Linked DNA regions of Homo sapiens: region 2 is linked to region 1. Evidence: promoter capture Hi-C in 16 types of primary human blood cells and fetal thymus (Javierre and others, 2016). All regions are on one chromosome and are shown on one strand. Each heading gives the region's core, a stretch centred on a gene start or on the middle of the fragment in contact. The rest is flanking DNA. Distances are from core to core; before and after follow the strand shown.

Evidence for each region. The method cuts DNA at HindIII sites, captures the fragments that hold promoters and counts their contacts. A CHiCAGO score of 5 or more calls a contact.
Region 2: a contact is called between a fragment that was not itself captured here and the fragment with the promoter of PCLAF in region 1, in 1 of 17 cell types (total CD4 T cells). The highest score is 5.1, in total CD4 T cells.

Annotation. Positions count from the first base shown.
Region 1 is chr15:64,380,050-64,382,931 of GRCh38, forward strand. PCLAF (PCNA clamp associated factor) reads right to left here and starts at 1,392. Exons shown (of 4, transcript NM_014736.6): 1 at 1,277-1,392; 2 at 909-989. The coding sequence starts at 1,322. RefSeq lists an enhancer at 1,053-1,563. The HindIII fragment of the contact is 13,260 bases long and covers 1-2,882 here.
Region 2 is chr15:64,645,211-64,648,092 of GRCh38, forward strand. All of the region lies in intron 3 of ZNF609 (zinc finger protein 609), which reads left to right. Among named protein-coding and RNA genes, the nearest start is that of OAZ2, 57 kb to the right of the region's middle. The HindIII fragment of the contact is 5,059 bases long and covers 1-2,882 here.

The DNA of each region.
Region 1 (2,882 bases), core at 142-2,641:
ATAGCCTCTAACAATATTTAAATAGCCTCTGTTATTATTAAGAAAAATAATAGCTGGGCGTGGTGGATCACGTCTGTGTTCCCATCACTTTGGGAAGCTGAGGCAGGCAGATCATGAGGTCAGGAGTTTGAGATCAGTCTGGCCAACATAGTGAAACCCCATCTCTACTAAAAATACAAAAAAATTAGCTGGGTGTGGTGGCGTGCACCTGTAATCCCAGCTACTCAGGAGGCAGAGGCAGGAGAATCGTGTGAACCCGAGAGGCGGAGGTTGCAGTGAACCAAGATCACACCGTTGCACTGCAGCCTGGGCAACAGTGCAAGACTCTGTCTCAAAAAAAGAAAGAGAAAGAAAAAGGAAAATACTAAACCAAAAAACAAAAATTGATAGGCTGGCTGTGGTGGCTCATGCCTGTAATCCCAGTAGGAGGATTGTTTGAGCCCAGGAGTTTGAGACCAGCTTAGGCAACATAGTGAGACCCCCATCTCTACAAAAAATAGAAAAAAAAGCCCGGCGTGGTGGCATGTACCTGTAGCCCCAGCTACTTTGGAGGCTGAGGTGGGAGGATTGCTTAAGCCCCATAAGTGGAGGATGTAGTGACCAGTGATTGCACCACTGCACTCCAACCTGAGCAACAAAGAGAGGCCCTGTCTAAAAAAAGAAAAGAAAAGAAAAATAGGCTTGAAGATAAGGTGTGTCGGTCCTTAACTCCAAGGCTTGAAATTCCCTTCCATGAGACCTCCCCCCCACCTCTACCCTAGCCGGCCAAAAGGCCCAGCCTCTCTTATTATATCACAGGGCAAGGAAGAAATTCGGGCGTGAGTACCTCAAGAAAAAGAAATTCATGGCAAGCCAGGGGCTTGCAGGTGCCAGGACTGATCCCCTAACTTTAGGAGGGCTCTTCTTACCTTTCCTCGATGAAACTGATGTCGAATTAGTGGCAGAGGTGGAAGAACCAAGCACCTTTCTGGGGGCTCGAGCAGCCACCACTGTGAAGAGAGGCAAAAAAGGGTGTTCAGAAGGGGCAGGAGGGTTCCGACACCGAGTCCTGGACCCCAGCAGCTTGGAGAGGAGAGCCTGGCGATCCAGAACAGCAGGATAACCTTACCCTGCCCCTGCGACTTCCTCTTCTAGGTAAAGGGGCCAGGCGGCTACTCCCTGGCTAGCTAGATGAGTTTGGCGCACAGGGCCCAGGGGGACCTCTGGCGTCTGTCGCCCGTGGCCAGGCTGCCGGGAGGACCCCCCCGCCCTCCAGTACCACACTCGATCGCCTCACCTTTTCTGTAAGTGCCTGGAACACTGTCTGCTTTAGTCCGCACCATGTTCAAACAAGAAGAGAGGAGAGGAGAGAACGAACTGACTTCCCAGCCGAGGGTGTTTCACTGGACAAGGACCCGAAAACTATCCCGCCACAGTTTATATTGGTCTCTTTCCCGCGCGCTCCAAGGTCTCTCCCGAGCCACCGCTCCCATTGGTTCCGCGCCGTTCCCCCTGAACCAATTGCCAATGCCCAGTGGTGACAGCGGCGAGGCTTCTTGCAGCGCGAATCCGTCCATCAACACGCAAAGGCCTAGGATTCGTAGGCGCCCCAGGTGGGCGGTACCAGGACTCTCCAGGGGTACCCGACTAGTGGGTGCTAAGTTTCTGAACTACAGAAATGAGCCTGCTTAGAAAAGAAAACCTAGCAAAGACAGCGAATTACAAACGATCTTCAAAAGTTACTATAGCTTTAAGTCCATAATGATTGACTCCTGGAGGTGAAACCTGAAATTAAGCGGACTTTTTGATGCAAATCAAAATTAAAAGAACTTGAGAACTTTCCTTTAGTCCCCCAGGCATGAACTCTTTGTACAGCATCCATACTAAAACAATTCTATGGAATGGGGAAAAGGAAGCTAATACAACTTGTTTACAAGGGTTTTTTTAAATGTCTTTAGGATGATGTGAGACTAAACAAAAACTAGGGGGATTGTATATACATACACACATAAAAAGAAACTAATAAAACGTCTTCTTGAGAACCGAATGGTGTCAGAGCTCCTAAATAATCTGCCAAATCTGCCAGGAGCGGGGACTCATGGCTGTAATCCCAGCACTTTGAGAGGCCGAGGCGGGCAGATCGCTTGACCCCAGGAGGTCGAGACCAGCCTGACCAACACGGTGAAACCCGTCTCTACAAAAAATATACAAAAATTAGCCGGGTGCAGTGGCATGTTCCTGTAATCCCAACTACTCGGGAGGCTGAGGTGGGAGGATGGCTTGAGTTCAGGAGACGGGAGATTGCTTGTGCCTAGGAGGGAGAGGTTGCAGTGAGCCATAATCACACCATGCACTCCAGCCTGGGCGACAGAGCGAGATCCTGTCTCAAAAAAAAAAAAGAAAGAAAGAAAGAAAAGAAAAGAAAGAAAGAAAAGAAAAGAAAAAAGAAAAGAAAGGCAAGGCAAGGCAAGGAAATGAAATGAAACGAAACGAAACGAAAAGACCCTGCCAAATGTGGTAAGACCACATCGCTGTCACACAGTGAGCATAACTCTAGGATAAAGGGTCATAATTTTTTTCTATCTTTATGCTTACCTTCTAATTACTCACAACACCCCTGGGGAGTGATTTTCACTCTCTAAATACCATACATAAAACAGAATCGGTCAGGCATGGTGGCTCACACCTGTAATCCTAGCACTTTGGGAGGCCGAGGCAGGCAGATTGCCTGAGCTCAGGAGTTCGAGACCAGCGTGGGCAACATGGTGAAACCCAGTCTCTACTAAAATAAAAATAAAAATAAAAAATAAAAAATTAGCTGGGAGTGGCGGCATGTGCCTGTAGTCCCAGCTACTCTGGAGGCTGAGGCAGGAGAATTCCTTGAACCCGGGAGGCGGAGGTTG
Region 2 (2,882 bases), core at 191-2,690, 270 kb after region 1:
CCTCTAGGTAGCTGAGACTACAGGCGTGTGCCACCATGCTCGGCTAATTTTTCTATTTTTTGTAGAGATGGGGTCTCACCATGTTACTTAGGCTGGTGTTGAACTCCTGGGCTCAAGTGATCTGCCTACCACAGCCTCCCAAAATGCTGGGATTACAGGCATGAGCCATTGCACTCGGCGTCCTACATTTTCTGCCCCACAACTAGCAACTGTTTTTTCCTCTGATTTTTTTTTTTAATTTTTGAAATTATTTTATTATTTCAAAAGTAATGCCTGATTTTTTAGCTATGACACCAAAAGCACAAGCCAGCAAAAGAAAAATTAGATAAATTGGATTTCATCAAAACTAATAACTTTTGTTTATCAAAGGATACTACCAAGAGAATAAAGATAGAATGAGAGAAAATATTTGCAAATCGTGTATCTGATAAGTGATTAATATCTAGAATAAAGAACTCCTACAGATCAACAATGAAAAACCCAAACAACCTAATTCAAAAATGCGCGTAAGACTTGAATAGACATTTTGCCAAAGAAGATATCTAAATGACCAATAATCACATGAAAAGATGCTCAGAATCATTAATTATAAGAGAAATGAACATAAAAACCATGATGAATTACCACTTCATACCTACTAGGATGGTTGTTATCAAAAATGTGGAAAATAAAAAGTGTTCAAGAGGATGTGGAGAAATTGGAACCCTTGAGAACTGTTGGTTGGAACATAAAATGAGTACAAGCCATTGTGGAAAACAGTTTGGTGGATCCTCAAAAAGCTAAACAGAATTAACATATGATCCAGCAATTCTACTCCTAGGTATATACTTAAAAGAATGGAAAACAGATGTTCACACAAAAACTTGTATGTGAATATATGACAGTATTATTCACAATATTCAGAAGGTAGAAATAACCCAAGTGTCCATCAACAGATGAATGGATAAACAATGTGGTATAGCCATACAATGGAATATTATTCAGCAAACAAAAAGAAATGAAAGCTGGTACAGTGACTCATGCCTCTAATCCCAGCACTTTGGGAGGCTGAGATGGGAGGATCACTTGAGCCCAGGAATTCAAGACCAGCCTGGGCAACATAGCAAGACTGCATCTCTAGAAAAAAATACAAAATGGCGGCCAGGCATGGTGGCTTATGTCTGTAATCCTAGCACTTTGGGAGGCCGAGGTGGGTGGATCAGCAGAGGTCAGGAGTTCGAGACCAGCCTAGCCAACATGGCAAAACCCCATCTCTACTAAAAATACAAAAAAAATTAGCCAAGTTTGGTGGCACACACCTGTAACCCTAGCTACACGGGAGGCTGAGGAAGGAGAATCGCTTGAACCTGGGAGGTAGAGGTTGCAGTGAGCCAAGATCGTGCCACTGCACTCCAGCCTGCACAATGGAAACAAGACTCCATCTCAAAAAAAAAAAAAAAAAAAAAAAACTGGGCACGGTGGCTCACGCCTGTAATCCTAGCACTTTGGGAGGCCAAGACGGGCGGATCACTTGAGGTCAGGAGTTCGAGACCAGCCTGGCCAACATGGTGAAACCCCATCTCTACTAAAAATACAAAAAATTAGCTGGGCATGGTGGCGCATGCCTGTAGTACCAGCTACTCGGGAGGCTGAGGCAGGAGAATCGCTTGAACCTGGGAGGCAGAGGTTGCAGTGAGCCGAGATCATGCCATGGCACTTCAGCCTGGATGACAGAGGGAGACTCTGTCTCAAAAAAAAAAAAAAAAAAAAAAATCAACCTGGTATGGTAACACGTGCAGTGATAAACTCATTATCACTGTATAGGATGTTGTCAGTTAGGCTTACTTAGTACTCCCAGCTACTCAGGAGGCTGAGGCAGGTGGATTGCTTGAGCTGTGATCACACCACTGCCATCCAGCCTGGGGGACAGAGTGAGACCCTGTCTCCAAAAAAAAAAAAATGAAGTTCTGATTCTACAATGTGGATGAACCTTGAAAATACATGTTAAGTGAAATAAGCCAGTCACGAAAGGACAAATATTGTATTTTTTCCACTTAGGTATCTAGAATGGATACATTTATATAGACAGAAAGAATATTAAGGGCCGTGGGGAGCATAGGGAATGGAGAATTATTGCTTAATGGCTACAAAGTTTCTATTTCAGGTGATGAAAAAGTTTTAGATATTGTGATGGTTCAAAAGGAAAAAGTAACAATTTTTATTGTTGAACATTTAGGAGACAAAGTCAAAATTCACCAAGAGGAAAAGAATAAATTACCCAGAGATAACCAATGTTTGAATTTTTATATTATATATTTTTGTTGCTTCTTTTATTTTATATTTTTAACAAATTGAGACCCTTCTCTATATATTTCGTAATCTTCTTTGTTTAGAGAAATATATTCCTGTAACATATTTCCATAACATTAAATGACCTTCTATAACATTTTAAATAACTACAGAGTATTCCATGTTAAGGATGTATCATAATGGACTTAGTCATTATATCTTTTATATGGTTTAAAAAAAGATACTTCTTAAATTTTCTAGCTCTTCAAGAGCTGAGCTTCATTTTTTACATCATCAATAAAGTACCTCACATACCAAGGAGACACATTATGTGTTTCATAATAATAACCTTGCAGCTTTGGACTTTTCGGTTTTTGTCCAAACTCCCTTTTCTCTTTTTATCCTCTTGCTGCATTTTGCCTACTTGGACATTTTCTTTTTGCTTCTTCCACCTGTTCTGTGTGTCTTTCACTTTGCCACCAGTATGTAGCTTTATTGCTGCATCTGTTTCTTTTCTGGTAGAAATAGGTCAAACGTAAAATCAATAACCTGCTTCTCAGCCCAAAATAAACCTACAGGTGTTGATGTCTTTTGCTTTAGTCCACAGTTTTATT